Regions from separate parts of the Homo sapiens genome. Here all the other regions are linked to region 1. Evidence: promoter capture Hi-C in 16 types of primary human blood cells and fetal thymus (Javierre and others, 2016). All regions are on one chromosome and are shown on one strand. The core of a region is centred on a gene start or on the middle of the fragment in contact, and the rest is flanking DNA. Distances in the headings are between cores, read along the strand shown. Region 1 holds the start of ALG14 (ALG14 UDP-N-acetylglucosaminyltransferase subunit). Region 2 holds the start of SLC30A7 (solute carrier family 30 member 7). Region 3 holds the start of SASS6 (SAS-6 centriolar assembly protein).

Evidence for each region. The method cuts DNA at HindIII sites, captures the fragments that hold promoters and counts their contacts. A CHiCAGO score of 5 or more calls a contact.
Region 2: a contact is called between the fragment with the promoter of SLC30A7 here and the fragment with the promoter of ALG14 in region 1, in 1 of 17 cell types (naive CD8 T cells). The highest score is 5.0, in naive CD8 T cells.
Region 3: the fragment with the promoter of SASS6 here is called in contact with the fragment with the promoter of ALG14 in region 1 in 4 of 17 cell types (non-activated CD4 T cells, naive CD4 T cells, total CD8 T cells and 1 more); the score reaches 15.9 in non-activated CD4 T cells.

Annotation. Positions count from the first base shown.
Region 1 is chr1:95,070,749-95,075,520 of GRCh38, forward strand. ALG14 (ALG14 UDP-N-acetylglucosaminyltransferase subunit) reads right to left here and starts at 2,203. Exons shown (of 4, transcript NM_144988.4): 1 at 2,015-2,203. The coding sequence starts at 2,150. RefSeq lists enhancers at 1,645-1,724, 1,965-2,324. The HindIII fragment of the contact is 2,572 bases long and covers 1-2,541 here.
Region 2 is chr1:100,893,264-100,898,035 of GRCh38, forward strand. SLC30A7 (solute carrier family 30 member 7) reads left to right here and starts at 2,827. Exons shown (of 11, transcript NM_133496.5): 1 at 2,827-3,079; 2 at 3,307-3,408. The coding sequence starts at 3,000. It overlaps EXTL2 (exostosin like glycosyltransferase 2), which reads right to left and starts at 1,579. Exons shown (of 5, transcript NM_001033025.3): 1 at 1,370-1,579. RefSeq lists enhancers at 911-1,634, 1,635-2,357, 2,252-2,321, 2,872-3,121, 3,172-3,331. The HindIII fragment of the contact is 2,158 bases long and covers 2,079-4,236 here.
Region 3 is chr1:100,130,427-100,135,198 of GRCh38, forward strand. SASS6 (SAS-6 centriolar assembly protein) reads right to left here and starts at 2,504. Exons shown (of 17, transcript NM_194292.3): 1 at 2,324-2,504. The coding sequence starts at 2,388. TRMT13 (tRNA methyltransferase 13) reads left to right here and starts at 2,737. Exons shown (of 11, transcript NM_019083.3): 1 at 2,737-2,889. The coding sequence starts at 2,743. RefSeq lists enhancers at 462-511, 2,285-2,887, 2,292-2,411, 2,422-2,951 and silencers at 2,126-2,289, 4,427-4,721. The HindIII fragment of the contact is 1,832 bases long and covers 852-2,683 here.

The DNA.
Region 1 (4,772 bases), core at 953-3,452:
ATTTTGAGACAGGGTCTCACTCTGTCAACCAGGCTGGAGTGCAGTGGCACAATCTCAGCTCACTGCAACCTCCACCTCCCAGACTCAAGTGATCCTCCTACCTCAGCCTCCCAAATAGCTGGGACTATAGGTGCATGCCACCACATCCACCTAATTTATTTATTTATTTTAATGTAGAGACAGGGTTTCACTATGTTGCCCAGGCTGGTCTCCAACTCCTAAGCTCAAGCAATCCGCCTGTATCGGCCTCCCAAATTGCTGAGATTACAGGTGTGAACCATCACGCCCGGCCTAAACACTTTAAATATGATCCTATTTAATCTCTCCTGTCCTCTCTCAACCCATGTAGAAACAGAAGGTTCAGCGAGGTTAACTAATTGCCTGAGATCCCCAAGGTAGTAAGTGGCAGAAATGTGATTCATGTGTGGTGTTATGACAACCTAGAGGCCTGTGGTCTTAACCCCTACATGATATCAACAGTGGAGTAGCAGCAATTGCTTTATAAAGCAGGATTTTAGGCCAGGGGTGGCTCACGTCTGCAACCCCAGCACTTTGGGATGCTGAGGCAGGAGGATCACTTGAGGTCGGAAGTTCAAGACCAGCCTTGGTCAACATGGTGAAACACTGTCTGTACTAAAAATACAAAAATTAGCTGAGTGTGGTGGTGCGCCTGTAATCCCAGCTACTCGGGAGGCTGAGGCAGGAGAATGGCTTGAATTTGGGAGGTGGAGTTGCAGTGAGCTGAGACTGCGCCACTGCCCTCCAGCCTGGGCAACAGCGTGAGACTCTGTATAAAAAAGAAAAAAAGCAAGATTTTAAATACTCTTTACAATCTGGACTCAGTTTACCTCCCTACATTGAACTCTACACGATAGTGTTCTCTCAACTCTGGTCATTCCAAGTGTTATCACCTTCTTTTCACATCCTCCCAGCCCTCGAAACCCTGGCTGTCCCTCATCTGACTAATTCTGGGTCATCTTTCAAGTTTCAGTTTAGCATCATTTCTTCCAGGAAGCTGTCTGTTTTTTAAGACCTGATAAAGTAGTGCCCTTCCTGAAGACTGCCATAGCAATTTGTACTTCTTACACAATTATTACAAGATTATAGCATTTATCTCATTGTGGCAAATACTCATTTTGATTTATTTTCTGTTAGTTTTTTTGTATTCTCTATTTCATTTACTGCTGTATCTTTGCATCTCTCACAGGACTTAGCACGGAGTCAGCACTCCGTGGCAAGTAATGTTAGTCAGTTTTGTTATTTCCAGAGGTTAGTTTAGTGTTTGGTCTTTCTAACAGCTCAAAACAGATTAAGTGAATAAAGTAATGCGTTATACTTGAACATAAACTTAGTACATTTACTCATACTATACATGTTCTATCTGGATGCAATCTCCTGCCATACCCAAATGTTTACATTGTGTCTGTGTGTGTCTGTCTGTCCCTGTCAAATATGTGTATTTAAAATTGTAAGCACCTACAGAGTTGGTGGATTTAGATTGTATTACCTGACAGGTCAGTGTGTTGCTCACACTCTGCCACCGCGTGTGTATTGTTCTACAGCCCGTAGATCATTGTTTTTATCCTCTTGGACTTTGTATATTTATAAATGTGACAATTCATTTTGCCTCATTTGTCATGTAGCATTCGTGTTTCCTAAACTAAATACGCAATACCTAGATTAATAATGCACAACAGCCATACGGGGAAACTGCATGTTTGCATCAAAAGGCTTCTACGTTCTCTGTTCACTAATTGTTTGAAAAATATACGCTACAGAGAGTCTTAATTATAGACAAGTGTAAATTACTTGTCATAAAAAAAACCTCTGGGCCGCGTCAGCAAACCAGCCCCTACCCTGGCTGGACTGCCCGGTTCCGGCAAGGCAGAGAAACTACAAATCTCTGCATGCAACACTCCAAGAAGTGCTAAGGGTACCAGGGAAGAGCGTCGCGGTGCACTCTGGGGTTTGTAGTGACCAACCCAAGTCCGACAGTCGCCTCCTCGATACTTACCGGACCCAGCCACTACCAAGATACTGAGAGACTCCCGGGGCGTAACGTCCATGGAACGAAGCACTACCCATATTCGCAGGATTAGGAAAACCGCCACAGCTCCTGCGGCCGCAGCTAGAACGAGAACGCACACCATGCAGAGAAACGGCGCATGCGTCCAACTTCCGGGGACCAGCCGCTGTCAAAGTTCACAACTACGGGTGCCGAAGCGACTCAAACGCGGAGGACGCACGTCTTGGTGGGCTGGTCTTTCCTGAGCTGGGAGGAGTGGAGGCGACGGAGAAGCTGAGGTCCCAGTCACAATCCATTTTACCTCATTTATCATGTAGTATTCGTGTTTCCTAAACTAAATACGCAATACCTAGATTAATAATGCACAACAGCCATACAGGGAAACTGCATATTAGCGTTAAAAGGTTTCTACGTTCTGTACGTTCACGTTTGTCAGCGGAACCCCTGCTTCTGCGCGGATTGTGCGCAGCTGCAGCCAAGCGTAAGCTGAAAATTGTAAAGTTAAGCGCTGGGGAAGCTTGATTTACGCCCACGACGAGGTCAGGCAGTCTCTGCGCCCTAAAGGTCCCGAAACTCCCCAGTTAGGAGGTGTTCTGGCTCTGTCAACTTCGTGAATGCCACCTGAAGCTAAGGGAATACATCCTTTCTTTCTTTCTTTTTTTTTTTTTAATGCCAAGAGAAATGTTTCTGTTGCACACAGACATTACTGAAAGTGTTCGCCAGTAAGGACCCTAGGCTTAAACATCGAATTTAGGGCCCTCATCCAAACCCCCTGTCTCCCAACATGTATGTTTTTAACTTTTCTCGAGGTTTTCACAGCTCTCAGTGTGACCAGAGTAGTTGAGGGTGACCACCTAAAGGTAAGCCACACTCCTAAGAGGATTGCAAAGCTCAGTGGCTCTAGGTAGCAGGATAGACAAGGCACAGTCCTACAATTAATATTCAGTTAATTTTATCACAAAGCATTTCCAGTGTGTTTCTCATGTCCTCAGCCAAAATGATGATCTGCCAACACCCCCTTCAATCTCAATTTTGCTTATGTCTAATTAATTAATTGTTAATAAATTAATTATGTCTAATTAATCCACATTACGACAACATAAAATACTAAGATCAGGAGCCCCTTCACCCCAAATATAATTTGCCTTCGGTCCACCATAGACCTACCTGTAGGTTATATTGAACAGGTATACAGATGAGTAAAAAGGTTCAGAAAGGTGCAACTGCTTGCCCAAGTGGAATAGCGTCAGATCTAGAATCAGAAACCAGAAATCTGAGTCCTGCTGGACAGGAGTACTGCATCCTGTATTCCTTTGCTAAATTCAAACTTGCCTGATCACCACACTTACCTGGAGCCTAGAATGTGTTATTAAAGGTGCAGACTCCCAGGGTCCATTAGGAAACACTGAATCAGAATTTCCGGGGATCGGGCACCTGGGATTAGCTTATGTAACCAGCGTGTCCATTCCTATCAGCAAGCAAGTTTGGGAGACTTTGTGAGTAGAGTCCGTGGACCTTACAACACTTTCCAAATTGTCTTCCATCAAATCTTCTTTCTTTTCTTTTCTTTTCTTTTTTTTTTTTTTTGAGACAGAGTCTCACTCTGTCGCTTGGCTGGAGTGCAGTGGCACAATCTTGGCTCACTGCAACCCCCACCTCCCAGGTTCAAGCGATTCTCCTGCCTCAGCCTCCCAAGTAGCTGGGACTACAGGCATGCACCACCATGCCTGGCTATTTTTTTTTTTTTTTTTTTTAGTAGAGACAGAGTTTCACCATGTTGGCCAGGCTGGTCTCGAACTCCTAACCTCAGGTGATCTGCCCGCCTCTACCTCCCAAAGTGCTGGGATTACAGGCATGAGCCACTGCGCCCGGCTCCATCAAATCTTCTTAACTATACATTCTCGCAGTAAGACCTTAAAGTGGATATTAGTTCCCTTTTTACAGACAAAGAAGTAGATTCCATAAAAGTTAAATAATTTGCCTAAGTCTACTTAGCTAGTAAGGGTGGAGAAAGTTCATAGTTGTGGACTTAGAAGTCAGTGTCTCTCAAATTTTAATGGAATCAGAATTCTCTGGGCTTACAAATGCGTAGTTGGAAGTCCAGAGGTAGGGTCTTTGGTGTAGTAAGAAAAACAGCTCAAGGATAATACAAGGAGTATCATTTACTTGTATATGCCCACTCTGCCATTCCTAATAATGTCTTCAACCTGAAACAGTCTTACCTGATACTTAAGACACTAGTGGTCCCAGAATGGGATGTGTGGATGGTTACATCCAACAGGGCAATCTCCATAGCCAAAAAAGAGGTTATCTTGTCGGGTCTTTTTTGCCCCTCCCCCCCAGTCTTGCTCTGTGGCACGGTCTCGGCTCACTGCAACCTCCACCTCTGGGATTCAAGCAATTCGCCTGGCTTAGCCTCCCAAGTAACTGGGACTACAGGTATGCGCCACCACACCCAGCTAATTTTTGTATTTTTAGTAGAGACGGGGTTTCACCATGTTGGTCAGGTTGGTCTTGAACCTGACCTCATGATCCGCCCACCTCAGCCTCCCAAAGTGCTGGGATTATACGGGTGAGCCATGACGCCCGGCCTGCTTTATTTTTTATTTTTTTAAAGGCAAGGAAACTTATTCTAGAACCCCTCACAGCAGACTTTCTTTCACTCCTTTTGGCCATACTTATATCACTTTCCCAGGCATAAAAGGAAAGCGACTTCAAAGCTGGTGGAGGTGGGAGGAGGATGATC
Region 2 (4,772 bases), core at 1,577-4,076, 5.8 Mb after region 1:
ATACCATTTGAACAGAGTTGAAGAATCATTTTTGATTTTCCAATACGACATATTGAAAGGGCAAAAGGAATGGCTTAGTATTTATGGAAAGACTTACTGAGTGACAGCTGTCCCTTCACACTGCTCCAAGGGCATCCCTTGTGTAAATTTTAAACATCACAGAGTTCTAAAAGACGAGACTGATTTGCCTGTCACAACCCCCCCCTTTCTTCATAACTACTCTTTTCCATAAAATTCCTCCAGGGAAGGAACTTTTTATTTATCTGGCTTTGTATCCCCAGCACCCAGCACAGAGCCTGGCACATAGAAGACATTCATTAAATGACTGTTGAATGAATGAAAGAAACAAATTTGATATGACAACAAAGATAGGTTAACATATATGGGACAAACATTATTTGACAATGACAAAAGAAGTGAGGCACAGCCTGACGTTTTTCACTCATAGAACTTTTCCTGATTTAAATAGTGTCCACCTACACTTTTATATTGCAAATAAAATGCCTTTAGTTTTAAATTTGGTCATTATGCTCTTTAAGACTGAAAGATGTGAAGACATCACCATCACTTTTTGAAAGGAGAAGGTCCTCATGGGAATACCTATCATATATCTTGGGGGATGGGGAGTGGGGGAATTTGGGAGTCTCTGGAAACTGATGTAACTGAAATTAAACTTCAATTTCTCGTACCCATTTCAAAACTATTTGAAAAGAGGTAATGTAGGTTTCTCCATAAACCACTTAAGCGATTTCTGATTTGTAGCAATACAGTATAAAATATAGGACTTATTTTCAAAGGCAGAATACAAAAAAGTTCAAAATGCAGCTGACCTTGATGAGTTAGGATTATGCTGGAAATCAGTTGCTGAAATTTAATTATTTCTATTACTTCTCCCGCCTTCTCCCAAGTTAAATCATATTGAATAAGGGCGTTTTGGAGAAAAATCCAATTACCATAGAATTATTTATCTTTAAACTATCTAGTTTGCACCCAATTAATTTTTCCTCAGCAGTGCAGTAGAGTAAAATTCAAGGTCTACTGCTAATACAAAAACTTCCTTCCAAAAAAAGAGTAAATGCTACTAATTTTAAATATTTCTACACTTAAATTAAAAGAATGAAATATACGCTAACAAAGGCAAATACAAAATACTCTTCCCAGAACTTACTTCTGAAACCTAGCTGTTTTTACACAGCAGTTTTAATTAACATTTTTCAAAATTGTAGAATAAGTACATATTTTCAAAAATAAAACCACCGAATACTCCATACACACACACAAAGTTCTCAGAACGAGAGCAAAACATGCATATATCCTCACTACAAAAAGAAAAATACTAATACTGGAGCATTTTGCTGTGTCTCCTTACCTCGAGTGCAGTAGATTGCAGTAGGGCCAGCCGATTTATTTCCCTGCAGCTTAGTTATCATAAAACGGAAGGGGCGTCTCGTTTGCTCATTTTTGTTTTTTTTTCTAAACCAAGTAGCGTGCATCTATCCTTCTCCATTAGCTGGATTAACAACCTGGAAAAAGTGCCGCCCGCAAAGTGAGCGCCTGGAGCAAGGGACAGTCCCCGAGTGGCCGCCCCTCCCTTTCGGTGACGCTCCACTTCCTGTCGGCCTAAAAGGCATTCCCAGGAAGCTCGGTTTTGTAGTTTCCAGCCCACCTCCGAAAGCCAATCCTTTCCTCCATTTCTTCTCCAAGGTAACAACTTTTAAACATTCACGTGACGGACCACCTTCCCTCAGCCAAACAACTTCCCTGAAAGGCGCCCGAAGGAGCCTTCCCATCCACCGCGGGTGCCCAGGAAAGGCCTGTGGGGCTCTCCTCCCCGCGCTCCACACGCCCTCGCATCCCACCGAGGGGCCAGCTTCTGCCTGCACGTTGCTGAAACTGGCCTGGAGGTTCTGACAAGAATTAGAGCGGCGGCCGTTGCCCCGGGGATGACCTGGAAGCGAAAGAGACCGGCACGAATTCTAGAGTTTCGGGGTTTCCGCGGGTTGAGATTGTACGGGAAACAATGCATTAACCAAACCTAAAAATCAAACAAACACGTCTGGTAGAACCTACCATTAAAAAGCTTCTTTCCTATACTACGTTTAACAGCCTTTATTTTGAAAGACATTGATTGATGCCAGGCATGGTGGCGCACGCCTGAGGTCTCAGCTACTCCGGAGGCTGAGGAGGATCACTTGCGTCCGGGAGTTCCAGGCTGTAGTGAGCCTCATTGTGCTCCAGCCTAGGTGACAGGGCGAGACCTTGTCTCTTAAAAAAATAAAGAAAGAAAAACATTGATCGCCTCCTGCGTGGCAGTCCAGAAGGGTCAAGCGCTGTTTTCGGGGTGGCGTGGAATGGATTCCTAAGATTTGGGCGCCCATAGAGTTAACGCAGCAAAACGATCACTTGCGTTTCCTGCGGACTGGCGGCAATAGAACACGTGGCTGCCTAGACTCTTAATCACTGATATCTACCACACCAGGATTTAATGCCAGTTGGGAGGAAATGGCGAAAGGGCAGGCGCTGGAGCCCATGCATCCGGGAACACTGGTGGTAGGCGGTCGGGTGGGCGTGAGCGGGCTCTCCATCTCCCAGCCCAGTCTGCAGGTCGCCACCTCAGGATTTTCTTCCTGAGTCCGGGTGGCAGGATTCCATCCCAGGTCAGCCCCTCACACCCCCTGGTAGTTGCCACCTCCTGGCGTCCCTCCAACAGCTCCAGCACCTTTCTCATCCCGCCCCCGCCGCAAGCCACGCCCTCCGCCGCGCAGGCCCCGCCCGCGACCGGCCTCCCTCCTTTCCTGTCCCAGGACGCGTTGCGCGGCCCGGGCCGGAAGTAAGCGAATTCCCGGGTGTGTGTCTGTGTCTGTCTGTGTCTCGCAGCGGCGCGCGGCCCCGGACAAGCGCTGGGGATTCCCGTTTGAGGCGTCACTACTGTCACTGCCATCACCCCACGGAGCCACTTCTAGAGGGGAGTAGACCCGGCCCTTCGCCGGGCAGAGAAGATGTTGCCCCTGTCCATCAAAGACGATGAATACAAACCACCCAAGTTCAATTTGTTCGGCAAGATCTCGGGCTGGTTTAGGTGCGGGGTGCTGTGTTTGCGGGGAGGGGGTGTCCGGCAGAAAGGGAGAAGGCCCAGACCTCAGGATGGCCCGAGGTCCAGTGAGGGAGAGTCAAAAACTCCCCGTCAACCCCTAGCTGTGAAGAAAGGAGCATGTGAACTGGGAGGGTCTTGAAGAGGGTACCCAGCCTCGGGGTCCCGGCACCTCCTTAACTCTCCCGGCTCTTTTCCACGTGTATCATTCCCAGGTCTATACTGTCCGACAAGACTTCCCGGAACCTGTTTTTCTTCCTGTGCCTGAACCTCTCTTTCGCTTTTGTGGAACTACTCTACGGCATCTGGAGCAACTGGTAACCAAAGGGGAAAATGGTTTGGGCGGAAGCTGGGTGTGAGGGAGACGAAGCACTGTTTGCTTAATGCCACGTAGCTCCTCACTAGGAGGTTCAGGTCCTACCTTTGTTACCTACCTCTGCTGCTGAGTTGCTTTCTCATACCCACACCAATCTGGTAGGGCTACAGTTCTTGAGTAAGATCTGGGCCTATCCTGTGCAACCTCTCTTGTCACGCTCCCCTCCAGTTCCATCAGACAAGACTGACAAGCCCCTCCTTATTTTAGCAGATGGGCAGAATCTTTCATTTCTAATTGTAGGCCTTAGGTTTACCCACTTTGTTGGAATTGGGAGAAACTTGTTTGCTGCCTCTCTCGGGGGGGAGTGGCATTTGGATTTCACCCTTAAGATTCTGAGAGAGTATATCTGAGATGTTCTACTTAGTTTGTTATTGGGGCTTGGAATGGGAGGTTTTATAAAGTGATATCGGGAGGAATATGTGTCATTCTCTTCTCTCTTTAATGCCGAAACTGTCTCATGATTTTCCTGTAGTCTTAACTGCGATGTAAAAATCCCATATAGTTTCTAGAAACAACATTTCTTGGGTTTTGGTGGCACCTTTGAGGGTTTTTGTTTTTTTTGAAACATCCTTAGGAGGAGGAAAATCTAGTGTGTAACTCTGTGGCAGTGAAGTTACTATTATTCAGGTATTTGCTGTTGAGTAACTTAAGGTCTTATGAAGTTGTTCTGCTAACAAGACTGTCACACTCCTAGGTGTACTAATTCTGTCTTTAGATCCCATACTCCTTCAAAAATCTGATGAAAGCCAATACTCAGAATTGTACATAAAGCTTCAGGATGTTGTTGGGTTCCCTGTACTAAATCTTGGACTCTAGATTAAGAACCTGTTTTCTATTTATTAAATAGACTTAGTCTCTGTTGTTTAAGACCCATTTTCAGAGAAAATCGCTGTCCTTGATCTTCTGTTGAGATCAAACATTGACAGGTAATATCACCAGGTTTTGTGACATGTATACTTTTATATAATGCTTGGGCTTCTTTCAATTCAACCGTCAATTCAGTTCTATAAAAAATACTCAATAACCAGCAGATTATGAAGGTTATTGGTTTAGTCAACAGTTGGGTATAAAGGCATATTGGCACAATGAAATCTTAATATATGTAATAACCATTTTGAATCCTTTGGGAATCAGATGTGTTAATTTGAAGGATACCCCATCATAGATTAATTTTTTAATCCCATAGTATTAACACACTTTAATATACTGTAGATGTTGAAAGCACTTGTACTTGAATAATCATACTTTATCATAAATATATAATATTTACAGTATATTTTACATTTTTCTCTTCCTAAATTATGC
Region 3 (4,772 bases), core at 1,254-3,753, 5.1 Mb after region 1:
TCCCCGAATTTTGGGAGGCTGGGGTGAGAGGATCACTTGAGCCCAGGTGTTCAAGACCAGCCTGGGCAATACAGGGAGACCCCGTCTCTTTTAAATTAAATTAACAACAAAAAAAAGCCAGGCGTGGTGGTATGCGCCTGTAATTGCAGCTACTCAGGAGGCTAAGGTGAGGGGAACCCTTGGGCCCAGGAGGTCAAGGCTGCAGTGAGCTGTAATCGTGCTACAATACTCCAGTCTGGGCAACAGAGCGAGACTCTGTCTAGAAAAAAAAAAAAAAAGAGAGAGAGAAAGAGAGAGAGTCTGGGTTGTTCTTCCTATAGGTCAAGGATCACCAAATTATTCTGTAAAGGGCCAGATAGCAAATATTTTAGGCTTTGCGGGCCATAAGGTCTCTGTCACAATTACTCATCTCTGCCCTTCCTGTGCAAAAGCAGCTACAATATGTAAACAAATGAGCATGGCTGTATTCCAAGAAAAGTTTATTTACGAAAACAGTGAGCCAACTGGCCCATGTGCTCCAGTTTGCTGACCCCTATTATACAGATAATAGGAATATATTAAAGGTTTCTAAGCAGAGAAATTGAGTTTTTAGATTAACTGTGATGGCAATGTAACCAGAAAGAGACCATCTAGGAGTTTCCATATTGAAACCAAAGTCATGGCCTCCTTTATCTTTCTATAATCATTCTAAAACAGTGTTGTCCAATGGAGATACAATGTAAGCCACAAATGTGAGCCAGGTATGTAATTTTAATTTTTTTCTTTTTCTTTTTTTTTTTTCAGAGACAGGATCTCGCTCTATCACCCAGGCTGGAGTACAGTGGCACAAATAGTAGCTCACTGTAACCTCAAGCTTAGGCTCAAGCAATCCTCCTGTCTTGGCCTCCTAAAGTGCTGGGACTACGGGTGTGAGCCACCATACCTAGCCTACTTTTAAATTTTCTAGAAGTCACATTTTAAAAAGACTTTTAAAAGCAGGTGAAATTAATTTTAATAATACATTGTATTTAACCCAATATACCCAAAAATATTGCCATTTAACACATAATATAAAAATTGACATATTTTACATTCTTTTTTCATAGTAAGTCTTAAAAATCCAACGTGCATTTTCATATGTAAAGCACAACAATTCAGATAAGCCCCATTTCAAATGTCTAATAACCACATGTGGCTAGTGGCTACCATACTGGACAGCATTAAAAGAATGATCAACTAAACCTACAGATCTCCATATGCAGCTGCTGGTTTTGGGACCATCTCCTTGACCGGCTTGCCATTGATTTTTGACCGAATTCTGAACTATATATACTACAGTTTGACATTACTGGCAACTCAATAAGGCAATGTCTTCATTTTTTATGTTACATTTGTACACCACTTAGTTTTCACATACGATTTCACACCTGATCCTCATTACAAACACGTGAATACGCAAAAGATTTCACACCTGATCCTCATTACAAACACGTGAATACGCATGTTATATCAGTTTTACAAATGAGGAAAGAACGTTCAGAGAAAAAAAGAGACAACCATTGAGTGTTAGAACTGAGAAAAAAAAAGTAAGTCTCCTGACCTCTGGTCAAATCTATTTACGCCCCAATAATACCACCTCCTTAATCAAAGTTGCACTTCTCTGTGCGACTGGTCTTTATTTCCTCCAGTGATTGTAAACTCCATGAAGAAAAGGACTGTTTTTCCTGACCACTGTATTCCCAGTGCCCAGTAAGGTGTTTTACAAGGAGGCAATATTTATTGAATGAATTAATGACGTTTCTGCTTTTCTCATTTTTAGTCGGTTAAATGTAATTTACTTTTTTAAAGCAACTGATGTGAAGAGCCAAAGTACGCCACCAAATTGGTAGGTTTTTAAAAGTTGAACTTTACTGCCAACATACTTCAAAAGAGAACGAGGGGGAAAGGCTCGGAGCCAAGGCCTGAGTTCTAGTCCTGACCCTGCCATGAACTGGCTGTGAGCCCTCACGTAAATTTTTTTAACTTCTCTGGGCCAGAGTTCTTATCTGTCAAAAGGGAAGAGTAGGGCTATAATCTTCACGATTCCGTGCACAGGTAGGGTTTTTGACATTAACTTGATGTGAGCCGGCTTCCTAACTCCTCACACCCTTCCTCCAGTCCCCTCTGCAACGGCCGACTTGGTGAGAGAGGTAACCACCGGGCCCTCTGGGTTCCCTATCCGCTTCCTAGGGGGGCCGACTCGACACCTAGGTGCAAGGTGGATCCCACGGGCCAGAACCGCCATCTTTCCCCATTGGCCTGACCCCAACCGCCACCCGCGGGCACTGGATGACGCGGACCTTACCTCTCCTCACAGTCTTTGCATTTCACCTGCAACGGGACTAGTTGGTGGAACAGCACTTGGCTCATGTTGGCTCGCTGCCTCGGCTGGTGTGCAGAAAAGCCCAACAGGCCCGGCCCTCGGGATTAGCCTGAGAGGTCCGGGTCCTGATAAAGTTTGAGTTTGGCGCTCGGCTTCTGCGGAGGAGGCGGGGAGGGAGAAACGAGGGGAAGGCGTAAGAGACTTGGCCCTCGCCAGCCACCATCGGATTCTTCCGGTTCTGCGGAGGATAAAGGGAAGACGGTTGTGGTAGTTCCGGGTATTAACCTGTGTGGCGCGGGGGCTGAGGCAGCCATGTTTGTTAAGGGAAGGAGACCCGAAGGAAGCTTCTAACTTTTCTTCTGGTTGCCGGATGCTGGACACCGGAAGCGAGCCCTAGAATTATGGCGACCTCCGCGACGTCGCCGCACGCGCCTGGTTTTCCAGCTGAGGGTAGATGCGGTTACTATGTGGAAAAGAAGAAACGGTTCTGCAGGATGGTGGTGGCCGCAGGGAAAAGATTTTGTGGTGAACACGCTGGAGCCGCGGAGGTGTGGTATCGCCCTACTCTCTCAAGAGTCGGAAATAAGTATCCTGGTCCTGTCGGTGCTGGAACCCGGCCCCTCCCCTCTTTGACAGCTTTCTGCTTGTGTCCCCTGGATTCTCCAGCTTTCACTTTAATAAACCCAGTTTTGCCCTCCTTGCGGAGCGATTATGAGTTCTAGTGATGAGAAATTTTTTATTTTTCTAAGTAAAGCGCCAGCAGTGACCCATTTATTTTGATCTATTTATCTCGATCTTAACTCATGGTAATGCTAGGTTTTAATTTTTACCCCAAGCTACCGCTCCGTCTTCCTGCTGGAAAGTGGTAGTTTAGAAAAAGTAGTGATTGAAGTCCCAAAGGTTTCACTAGTTGTGTTCTAATTGTTATTTCATGAAAGAGAAGCACTTCTCGTGAATGCGGTTGGAAGAAACTTTCTTTTAAAAATTTAGACTTGAGGCCCGGCGCGGTGGCTCACGCCTGTAATCCCAGCACTTTGGGAGGCCGAGGCGGGCGGATCACTTGAGGTCAGGAGCTCGAGACCAGCCTGGCCAACATGATGAAACCCTCTCTCTACTAAAAATAAGAAAATCAGCCGTGGCGCGAGCTACTAAAATTAAGAAAATCGTGGTGGTGCGAGCCTGTAACCCCAGCTACTCGGGAGGCTGAGGCAGGAGAATCGCTTGAACCCAGGAGGTGGAGGTGGCAATAATCCAAGATCACACCACTGCATTCCAGCCTGGGTGACAGCCAGACTGAATCTCAAAAAAGAAAAAAAAATTTTTTTCGACTTACAGTTTTTAAGAATGCAACTTTGCTGGAATGGGAAGGAAAGATTTTTAAATATATACGAATTGACCTTTTACAATTGAGAACAAAGCATACAATTTTGTTTGATAATTATGCATATAAATGTACTATCAAACACTTTATATTTGTATATATGTATATTACTTTAGGATATATATGAGATGGGAAAATAAAAACCAGAGGAGCAAAATGCTCATAGGAAGAGAGCATGTCCTTATAGTTCCACAGAACTATAAAGAATAAACCAAAGCGATCAGCATCAGATTTCATGCTTCTGAATGTTCAGTATTATTTGCATTATTTTATTTCTTAAGGAATTTATTCTTCTAGACAATATCCAGTGCAGATCAGTCCCCTGACCCCCTTCATCTGCCACTCTCCATCATAGTTGTAGTCTACTTCCTATTTTGTTTTGACTGGCATTTACCAAAAGTGAAGCATACTGAAACAAGGACATTCTTGTTTTGGAATATGGGAGACGTGATTTGTTGTGGGAACTCTGAATTATGCCCATAGTCTATTGACTGGTTTTGAGGGGACTGGCAAACATCCCTTGTTGAAGAATGAGAGTTATGATAGGAGAAGGATTTAGACTCCACCTTATCCAGATATATGGAAGGTGAAAACAAATAGTGATGATAGTAGAATATGAATAAATCCTTACAAGCTGATTAGTATTCCTATAGAGGAACGACATATTGTCATTAGACACTTGAAGAGAGACCGCAAAACATCAAGTGGAAACACTTTTATTGACTACTATCTCGTTTTAAATTGTGGCTATCCTCCTGAATCTGTAATTTATGATGTAACTGGATGTTGTGTTTCCATCTTTTTTTCTAAGTGTCATATATAGCTGTGATGACACCACTCATTTTTACCCAGTGGTTCTCGACTGGGACTGATTTTGCCTCCAGTGAACACTTGGCAAAATGAAGACATTTTGGTTGTCAAACTGAGGAGTATCACTGACATCTAATGGATAGAGACCAGAAATGCTGCTAAACCTCCTACAAATCACAGGACAGCCCCCTGCACTCACCCCCTCAAAAGAATTACCTGCCCAAAACGTCAATAGTGCCA